Linked DNA regions of Homo sapiens: region 2 is linked to region 1. Evidence: promoter capture Hi-C in 16 types of primary human blood cells and fetal thymus (Javierre and others, 2016). All regions are on one chromosome and are shown on one strand. The core of a region is centred on a gene start or on the middle of the fragment in contact, and the rest is flanking DNA. Distances in the headings are between cores, read along the strand shown. Region 1 holds the start of XPOT (exportin for tRNA). Region 2 overlaps CCT2 (chaperonin containing TCP1 subunit 2).

Region 1 (4,397 bases), core at 1,338-3,837:
TATGGAAAGGGTATATGTAATTCAGAAGGGATGTGTATTATGTCTGTTCTCACACTGCTATAAAGGAATGCCTGGGACTGGGTAATTTATAAAGGAAAGAGATTTAATTGACTCACAGTACCTCAGGGCTGAGGAGGCCTCAGGAAACTTACAATCATGGCAGAAGGGGAAGCAAACACATCATTCTTCACATGGTGGCAGGGGAGAGAAGAATGAGTGCCCAGCAAAGGGGGAAGCCCCTTATAAAACCATCAGATCTCATGAAAACTCACTATTACGAGAACAGGGTGGGGGAAACCAACCCCATGATTCAATTATCTCCACCTGATCCCGCCCATGACATGAGGGGATTATGGGAATTACAATTCAAGATGAGATTTGGGTGGAGACACAGCCAAACCACGTCAGGATGTGTAGACAACTGAAGTACAATAACATCAAGGCTGTTTTGACGTAAGGGCAGAATTTACAGTATGTGCTCTCACACAACTTGAAATCTTAAAGGCCTTCCGGGAACAGGGTTAATCAGAAACCAACATGGCAGATTAGTACCAAAGATGGAGTTACTTTAGCTTCCAGATTCCACCCATCAATCCAGCTCTTACAGTTTCACTCGCCCTCCTATTTGGAGATGGTCCCTGAGCTTTTAGGGAGGGTGGTTTCATATGATATAGCTTTAGCAGCAGCGCCCTAGCAGTGGAAAACAGATTGGGCCCAGAGAGATTCCAAATGAGGGAGATTCACAGGCTTTGTTGAATTATCTCTAGTCTTGAGAATACCATGACTTTGGTTTTCTCAGAAGTAAAACAAGAGATACTTCTTGTTTATAATTAATTTGAATAATTAATAATTTGAATAGTAGAAACATAATGCATGCAAGGATTACAATCAAAAGAAAATTTGTATGCCAGAACAACAAAGAACCTATTTCGTTGGGAAGCCAACTGAGAGCAGCGTGAAGAAAATTAAGGCCTGACACAGGGACTCACACTCGTAATTCCAACACTTTGGGAAGCTGAGGTGGGAGGTTCATTTGAGCCTGGGAGTTAGAGATCAGCCTGGGCAACAGAGCAAGTCCCCATCTCTACAAAAACAAACAAAAATAGCCAGGTATGATGGTATGCACCCGTAGTCCCAGCTCCTTGGGCGGCTGAGGCAGGAGGATTGCTTGAGCCCAGGAGGTCAAGGCTGCAGTGAGCTATGACCACTCTACTCCAGACTGGGTAACAGAGCGAGACCCTTTCTCTAAAAACAAGAAAAAATTAAAACCCAGTTCTCCTTTAGCGACATCTTGTAGCCACTAGCCTGACATTTTAAACACATAAATTAGAAACATGATGCAAGAGTGATTCAAGGTATTTTATATAGGAAATGCCTGGTGTAGTGTCTTGGACAGCTAAATAAAGGTAGCTGTTAAAACATTAGTTTTATTCTATGCTCTTACCATTCCTCCCTCTCCAAGTTTTGTTTGTAGTCTGTGGCAGCAACCTAGTCTGTATTTAGTACACATTGAATAATCAACAATGAAATGTAAATATTGAGCACATTGTGTGTCAAACACATGTATTAACTCAAACCTCACAGAAACCCTTTGAGGTCGGTACTATTAACAATCCCCATTTTACATACGAGTAAACTGAAGCATGGATAGACTAAAGTAAAGTGCCTGAGGTCAACTAGTGAGGAGGCGGAGTGGCAGTCAAGTCGAGGCAGCCTAAGCCTACACTGCCTCTATGTTGCATTAATAAATTAATAAATCTGTGACCAAATAAATGAAGTGACATTTAGTAGCATCGAAAGATCCCGTGAGTAGGACTTCCTAAGAATGCTCTCCTTCTTTTCATGGACAAAATTTTAGTCTGTTTAAAATAAATTTTGGACCGGACACCGTGGCTCACGCCTGTAATCCCAGTACTTTGGGAGGCCGAGGCAGGTGATCACTTGAGGTCAGGAGTTCGAGATCAGCCTGTCCAACATGGTGCAACCCTGTCTCTACGAAAAATACAAAAATTAGCTGGGTATGGTGGCGCGCGCCTGTCATCCCAGCTACTCAGGAGGCTGATGCAGGAGAACTGCTTGAACCCCGGAGGCGGAGGTTGCAGTGAGCCAAGATCTCGCCATTGCACCCCATCCTGGGCGACAGAGCGAGACTCCGTCTCAAAGAATAAATAAATAAATTAATTAATTAATTTTGAAAACCTGTCAGCACTCATCAGAGCTTTACACTGCTGTACTCGGGACACTTGGGGCCGTAGACAAGCAATTAAATTGACTCACACGTGGTTAGAACCACGTCATCCTGATTCGTGAATCCGTACTCTCAACTACTAGAAGCCCTTTGTGGAATGCTCGGGGCGAACCTGACGCTTGAGCTCTGACACCACGCAGACACAGCCGGGGATTTAGGAGCTGGGTAGGGACTCCTGGGCCGGATGCCTCATCCCGGCATGCACCTCAAGCCCCGGTGACCACGCCTTCCGGCGAGCGCCAGGGAGCGCGTGTGCGCCTCGCCGCCCGGAAGCGCCGGCCGCTCCCTGCATGCTGGGAGTTGTAGGCCTCCGGCGTCAGCCCGCGGGCTGCCGCCCGCACTCTCCAAGAGACTGCTGGCGCCGGCGCCCGCCCGCGCGGCACCGACGCGGGGAGCGCGCTTCGCGCTGACTCAGCGGCGGCGGCGGCTGCGGCGGCGGCGGCGGCGTTAGCCGGCCCTCGCGCTCTTTCCCTTCCTGGGGCGCCGACCCCGCCCGCTTGCTTGCTTGCTTGCTTGCCTGCCTGCCTGCCTGCCCGGCGCCACGCAAGAGAAGGTGCCAGGGGACGCAGAGCGACTAGAGGCGCGCGGTCCCGGCCAGCACCGTCTCTGGCGTTGTAGCTGCGGCCGTGGCGGAGGACTACGGCGACAAGGACGAGGGCCGCTCTCCCAGCTCTCTGCGTGCCGCGCCGCTCCGCTCCGCTGGCTGACCATCTGGAGTGCAGGCTGGGAGGCGGGATGGAGTGATAGGGAAGGTGACTCGGGGCTCGGGGGCAGCGGGACCGGGACCAGGTTTGGTCCGCGTGAGGCTTCGAGGAAGTTGGCCGGGGCGGACCGGCCCGGGGGAGTCCCGACGCCAGGGAGGGTGCAGGCTTGGGACCCTCTATGGCGGTGCACCCCCTGGCTGGGCGGACCGGGTGGGGGTGGGTACGAGCCGGGGCCGCCGCCGAGGAGCGCGTCCCGAGTGCGTGGCCGGCGGTTGCTTGGTGTTTCATCACCCGAATTGCCACGAGGCTTCCTTTAGGGGAGGGATCGGGGGAGGGATGGGAGCAAGGCTAGCAGAGGAGGGTCGGCATCGCCTGTGGTTCCGAAGCCCGTTAGTCATCGTTGTAGCGTTATCAACTGTGGAGACCTCAAACTTGATTCTTCCCCCACCCCTGGACAAAAAGGAAAAGTGTTATTTCTGTGCAGTAATTGGCCAGCACGGACGCTCCATTTCTTCTCAAACCTTCCTCACCATCCTGCAGGACTAGAGAAGCATGAGGTTTCCCTGTAACCAGAAAAACGAGTACTTTTTGAAAGTGCTAATTAGTTGTGGCGGGCGGGGGTTGGGGGAGAGTTACGTTTTATTAAACCGACTTGTCAGCGTGGTGTTAAAAGGCTGGAAAGATTCAGTCGTAGTATTTGAAACAGTCTTCAGTAGGTGTAGAGGAATTTTTCCAAATTGTTTGATTCTTAATGGCTATCCAGGAAAAGTTAAGGCTTAATATTTTAAGTATGTTGCTTGCCTTCCCCCAAGAACCTTTGCAAGATGCATAATTGTTTACCGTATTGAAACATTTTTTGGGGTTTTGTTGTTGTTGTTTTGAGACGGAGTCTCGCTCGGTCGCCCAGGCTGCAGTGCAGTGGTGCCATCTCGGCTCACTGCAACCTCTGCCTCCCAGGTTCAAGTGATTCTGCAGCCTCAGCCTCCCGAGTAGCTCTATTACAGGTGCGCCCCGCCACACCTGGCTACTTTTTGTATTTTTCGTAGAGATGGAGTTTCACCGTGTTAGCCAGGATGGTCTCGATCTCTTGACCTCGCGATCCGCCCGCCTCAGCCTCCCAAAGTGCTGGGATTACAGGCGTGAGCCACCGCGCCCGGCCTTCCACTGCATATTGATCGTCCAAATGCCTTCTATGTGGGGGATTCTTTCTGTAGTGACAACTGTTAACTAGTTTGTTTCCTTGGGTTTATTGGCTATGTTTTCCTTAGGGCCACTTCATTTTTCTCCCGATAGCTTCAGAGTGACTTGACCAAGCTTAAGCACTTTTTCTTTTTTTTGACACAGTGTCTCACTCTGTCGCCCAGGCGGGAGTGCAATGACACGATCTCCGCTCACTGCAACCTCCCCCTCCCGGGTTCATGCGAGTCTTCTGCCTCAGCCTCCTG
Region 2 (3,886 bases), core at 209-2,708, 5.2 Mb after region 1:
TGAGGTTTAATTCTTTTCATATAGCTTACAGACTTGATCAGTTAGGGTAAAATTATCTATTGACATGAATATCTAGATAAATTTTGAAAAGTAAAGTAGGGTTAATATGTATATTTGGTTGGTTTTATTTAGTTCCGATGAAGTTAAATTCCGTCAAGATTTAATGAATATTGCGGGCACAACATTATCCTCAAAACTTCTTACTCATCACAAAGACCACTTTACAAAGTTAGCTGTAGAAGCAGTTCTCAGACTGAAAGGCTCTGGCAACCTGGAGGCAATTCATATTATCAAGAAGCTAGGAGGAAGTTTGGCAGATTCCTATTTAGATGAAGGTATGTATGAATGTCAGATACAAGAAGCTTTGATTAGATGCTGAGGGCTGAATACTGAGTGAATTCTGTTTTGAGACCAGTGACCCTTTACAAAGCCAGTGAACTTGAATTTAAGGACATATCATATGTGCAACCATTTTTGTCATTTTATTGACAGTGTACTCCTCTTCCCGCGCTATTCCAGCATTGTTGATGATCTCTAGAGTTTACTTAACTACCATGAAGTTATTTGCAGTCTCTGATAAAGAGGAAATGTTTTCTTTTACTAGAAATCATCTATTCTCAAATGGTACTTTTACCAGGATTATATGTATTCTCCAGGAAGGGTCTGGGTCAGTCAAATCATTGTGTTAGCTGGTTGTTGAGGATGTACAGTTGACCATTGAACAACATGGGTTTGAATTATGTAGGTTCACAATGCAGGTTTTTTCAATAAATATAGTCAGCCCTTTGTGTCCGTGGTTTGCACATGTGCAACCGAACGTGGATGGAAAATGCAGTATTTGCAGGATTTGAAACCCATGTATATAGTGGGCCAGCTTTTCAAATCTGCTGGTTCCAGTCAGCCTGGAACTTAAGTATGTGGGGATTTTGGTGTATGTGGGCGTCTTGGAACCAGTCCCCTTCGTATACTGGGGGATGACTAGTTTTTTTTAGAAAAGAATTAAAAAAAATTTCTTTAACAAATAATTATGTATGTTTATAGGGCAAGAGGATCTAGTTCTTAAAGAGTGATAAATGAGACATAATAAGTACTGCTTTCTTAGTAGTACATTTTTGTTTAGAGTGAAGTTTTCCAGATCATCTTCACATTATATTTACTTCACAAAATGGCCTGTCAAAAAGTATAGGCATTCTTATATAGAGAAGGAAAAAAAAAGAATTAGATGGTGCTTTACAACTTCTGTTTTTACCAGTGGTTTGGAGTCCTGGTTTTGTTCTGTGTCATAGGTCTTGATTTATTTTAAGAGAGAGTCATAATTCTGAAAATACTCTTGATTAAGTTTATATACAAGAGCTGTGTAGCATTTCTTTTTTTTTTTTTTTGAGACGGAGTCTGGCTGTGTCACCCAGGCTGGAGTGCAGCAGTATGATCTCGCCTCACTGCAACCACTGCCTCCTGAGTTAAGGCGATTCTCCTGCCTCAGCCTCCTGAGTAGGTGGGATTACAGGCGTGTGCCACCATGCCTGGCTAACTTTTTTGTATTTTTAGTAGAGACGGGGTATCGCCATGTTGACCAGGCTGGTCTCGAACTCCTGACCTAAGGGGATCCACCTGCCTCAGCCTCCCAAAGTACTGGGATTACAGGCGTGAGCCACCATGCCTGGCCGCTGCGTAGCATTTCTGATAGGGGCTGGTGGTAGGGAAGGAGCATTAAAACAAGAATATTAGTAGCACAAGCAGCACCATTCTTGAATGTCTGCTCTGTACTAGGAATTGTAATAGGAACTTTAGTCATTTAGTCATCATGACCTGGTGAGTGAGGATTAGGTTCACTTGAATAGAGTAGAAAACCCAAGATAATGGTGGCTTCATAATGGAAAAGTTTCTAATGTAACCAAAAAAAGGCCTAGAAAGGTAGGTGGTACTGGGTTTGTATGATGGTTCCAAAGCAGCAGGACTAGGCTGGTAACTAGCACCTCTGCTACTGGTTACATTCCTGTTTTACAAATTAGCATTTCTGGTTGGATAATTTGTCGAAGGTTATATAGCCAGCAGCAGGGGCATGATCAGGGTCAGATTTATCTGACTCCACGGTGTCCATGGTTTTTCCATTTTTACCACCAGCCTCAATACCTGAATCTTCAATTTTTCTCTTGTGGTGGTGATTTTAAGCTAATAAAAATATAGGACTTAACCTATTGTCTTTATATTGCAACCCATACAGATGTGGGTGTAGCGTATATCTGAAACAAAAGTTTCAAAATACTGTTTAATTTTATTGTCTGTACTGTGCTCTTATATTTTCTGTTTCATATTTTTTAAGTAACCCATTAAATTGATTTTGTAATAACTCTTCTAGTGGGATGCTTTATACCAGAAGTGTCCAAGGAAGAGAATACAGTCATGGGTTCCTAGTTTCTGTTTCTGGTTGGGTCGGTAAAGCCCCTTCCTCCTCCCTCTTTTCTGCTTATCACTAGAGACAGAAACTAAAATCCATGGCTTTCAGGCGCTAAAAGCCTAAAAGCAAAACAACAACAGAATAAGGCAGGTTGGACAAGCTTGCTTTTATGCCTTCTAAGAGCTTGGTAAATTGGACTTAAATAGCTTCTTTGAAACAGTGATATGATAAAGCAGACAGCTTTTTATAAGATTTACTAAGGCTGCTTTGAAGTATTAAATATGATACTGTTCTTATATTTATTGTAGGCTTCCTGTTGGATAAAAAAATTGGAGTAAATCAACCAAAACGAATTGAAAATGCTAAAATTCTTATTGCAAATACTGGTATGGATACAGACAAAATAAAGGTATGTAACTCTACTTTTTAAAAATTAAAATTACTGCCCAGGCAGAGTGGCTCATGCCTGTAATCCTAGCAATTTGGGAGGCCAAGGTGGTGGATCATCTGAGATCAGAAGTTTGAGACCAGCCTGACCAACATGGAGAAACCCTGTCTCTACTAAAAAAAAAAAAATACAAAATTAGCTGGGCATGGTGGCGCATGCCTGTAATCCCAGCTATTCGGGAGGCTGAGGCAGGAGAATCACTTGAACCCAGGAGGCGGAGGTTGCACTGAGCCGAGATTGTGCTACTGCACTCGAGCCTGGGCAACAAGAGTGAAACTCCGTCTCAAAAGTCTCAAAAAAAAAAAAATTGCTGGATTCTATAAACTCAGGAATCAATTGCACTAAAAAGCTTGGAATAGGTATGAATCTATTGTGTATATACACATATATATACGTTGGTAAAAATGTTGAAATATGCTATGGGACTCTTTAAAAAGAGTAATGAGGCCTGGCGTGGTGGTTCACGCCTGTAATCCCAGTACTTTGGGAGGCCAGGCGGGCGGATCACAAGGTCAGGAGTTCAAGGCCAGACTGACCAATGTGAGATGGTGAAACCCTGTCTTTACTAAAAATACAAAAATTAGCTGGGTGTGGTGGCGCACACCTGTAATCCCAGCTGCTTGGAAGGCTGAGGCAGGAGAATCACTTGAACCCAGCGGGTGGAGGTTGCAGTGAGCCGAGATTGCCCCACTGCACTCCAGCCTGGGCAACAGAGCGAGACTCAATCTCAAAAAAAATAATGAAACTGATGCTCTCTTTATGCTTCGTTTGTCTTAGATATTTGGTTCCCGGGTAAGAGTTGACTCTACAGCAAAGGTTGCAGAAATAGAACATGCGGAAAAGGAAAAAATGAAGGAGAAAGTTGAACGTATTCTTAAGCATGGAATAAATTGCTTTATTAACAGGTCTGTGTTTGCTTTTAAGAAAGGATTTTTTTCCATGAAAGTTTATGGAATACTTCATATTTACTTATATTGAATTAGATTTTTTACCTAGGAACTGTCTTAGATAACTTCACTTAAATTATGGATTTTTGTAAT

What was found. Contacts are between HindIII fragments. The CHiCAGO score rates a contact against its expected background, and 5 or more counts as called.
Region 2: a contact is called between a fragment that was not itself captured here and the fragment with the promoter of XPOT in region 1, in 1 of 17 cell types (total CD4 T cells). The highest score is 5.7, in total CD4 T cells.

What each region holds. Positions count from the first base shown.
Region 1 is chr12:64,401,805-64,406,201 of GRCh38, forward strand. XPOT (exportin for tRNA) reads left to right here and starts at 2,588. Exons shown (of 25, transcript NM_007235.6): 1 at 2,588-3,000. RefSeq lists enhancers at 2,163-2,212, 3,310-4,186 and silencers at 2,603-2,762, 3,093-3,202. The HindIII fragment of the contact is 10,073 bases long and covers 1-4,264 here.
Region 2 is chr12:69,589,353-69,593,238 of GRCh38, forward strand. It overlaps CCT2 (chaperonin containing TCP1 subunit 2), which reads left to right. Exons shown (of 16, transcript NM_006431.3): 7 at 133-335; 8 at 2,707-2,807; 9 at 3,624-3,751. Among named protein-coding and RNA genes, the nearest start is that of CCT2, 5.8 kb to the left of the region's middle. The HindIII fragment of the contact is 2,196 bases long and covers 361-2,556 here.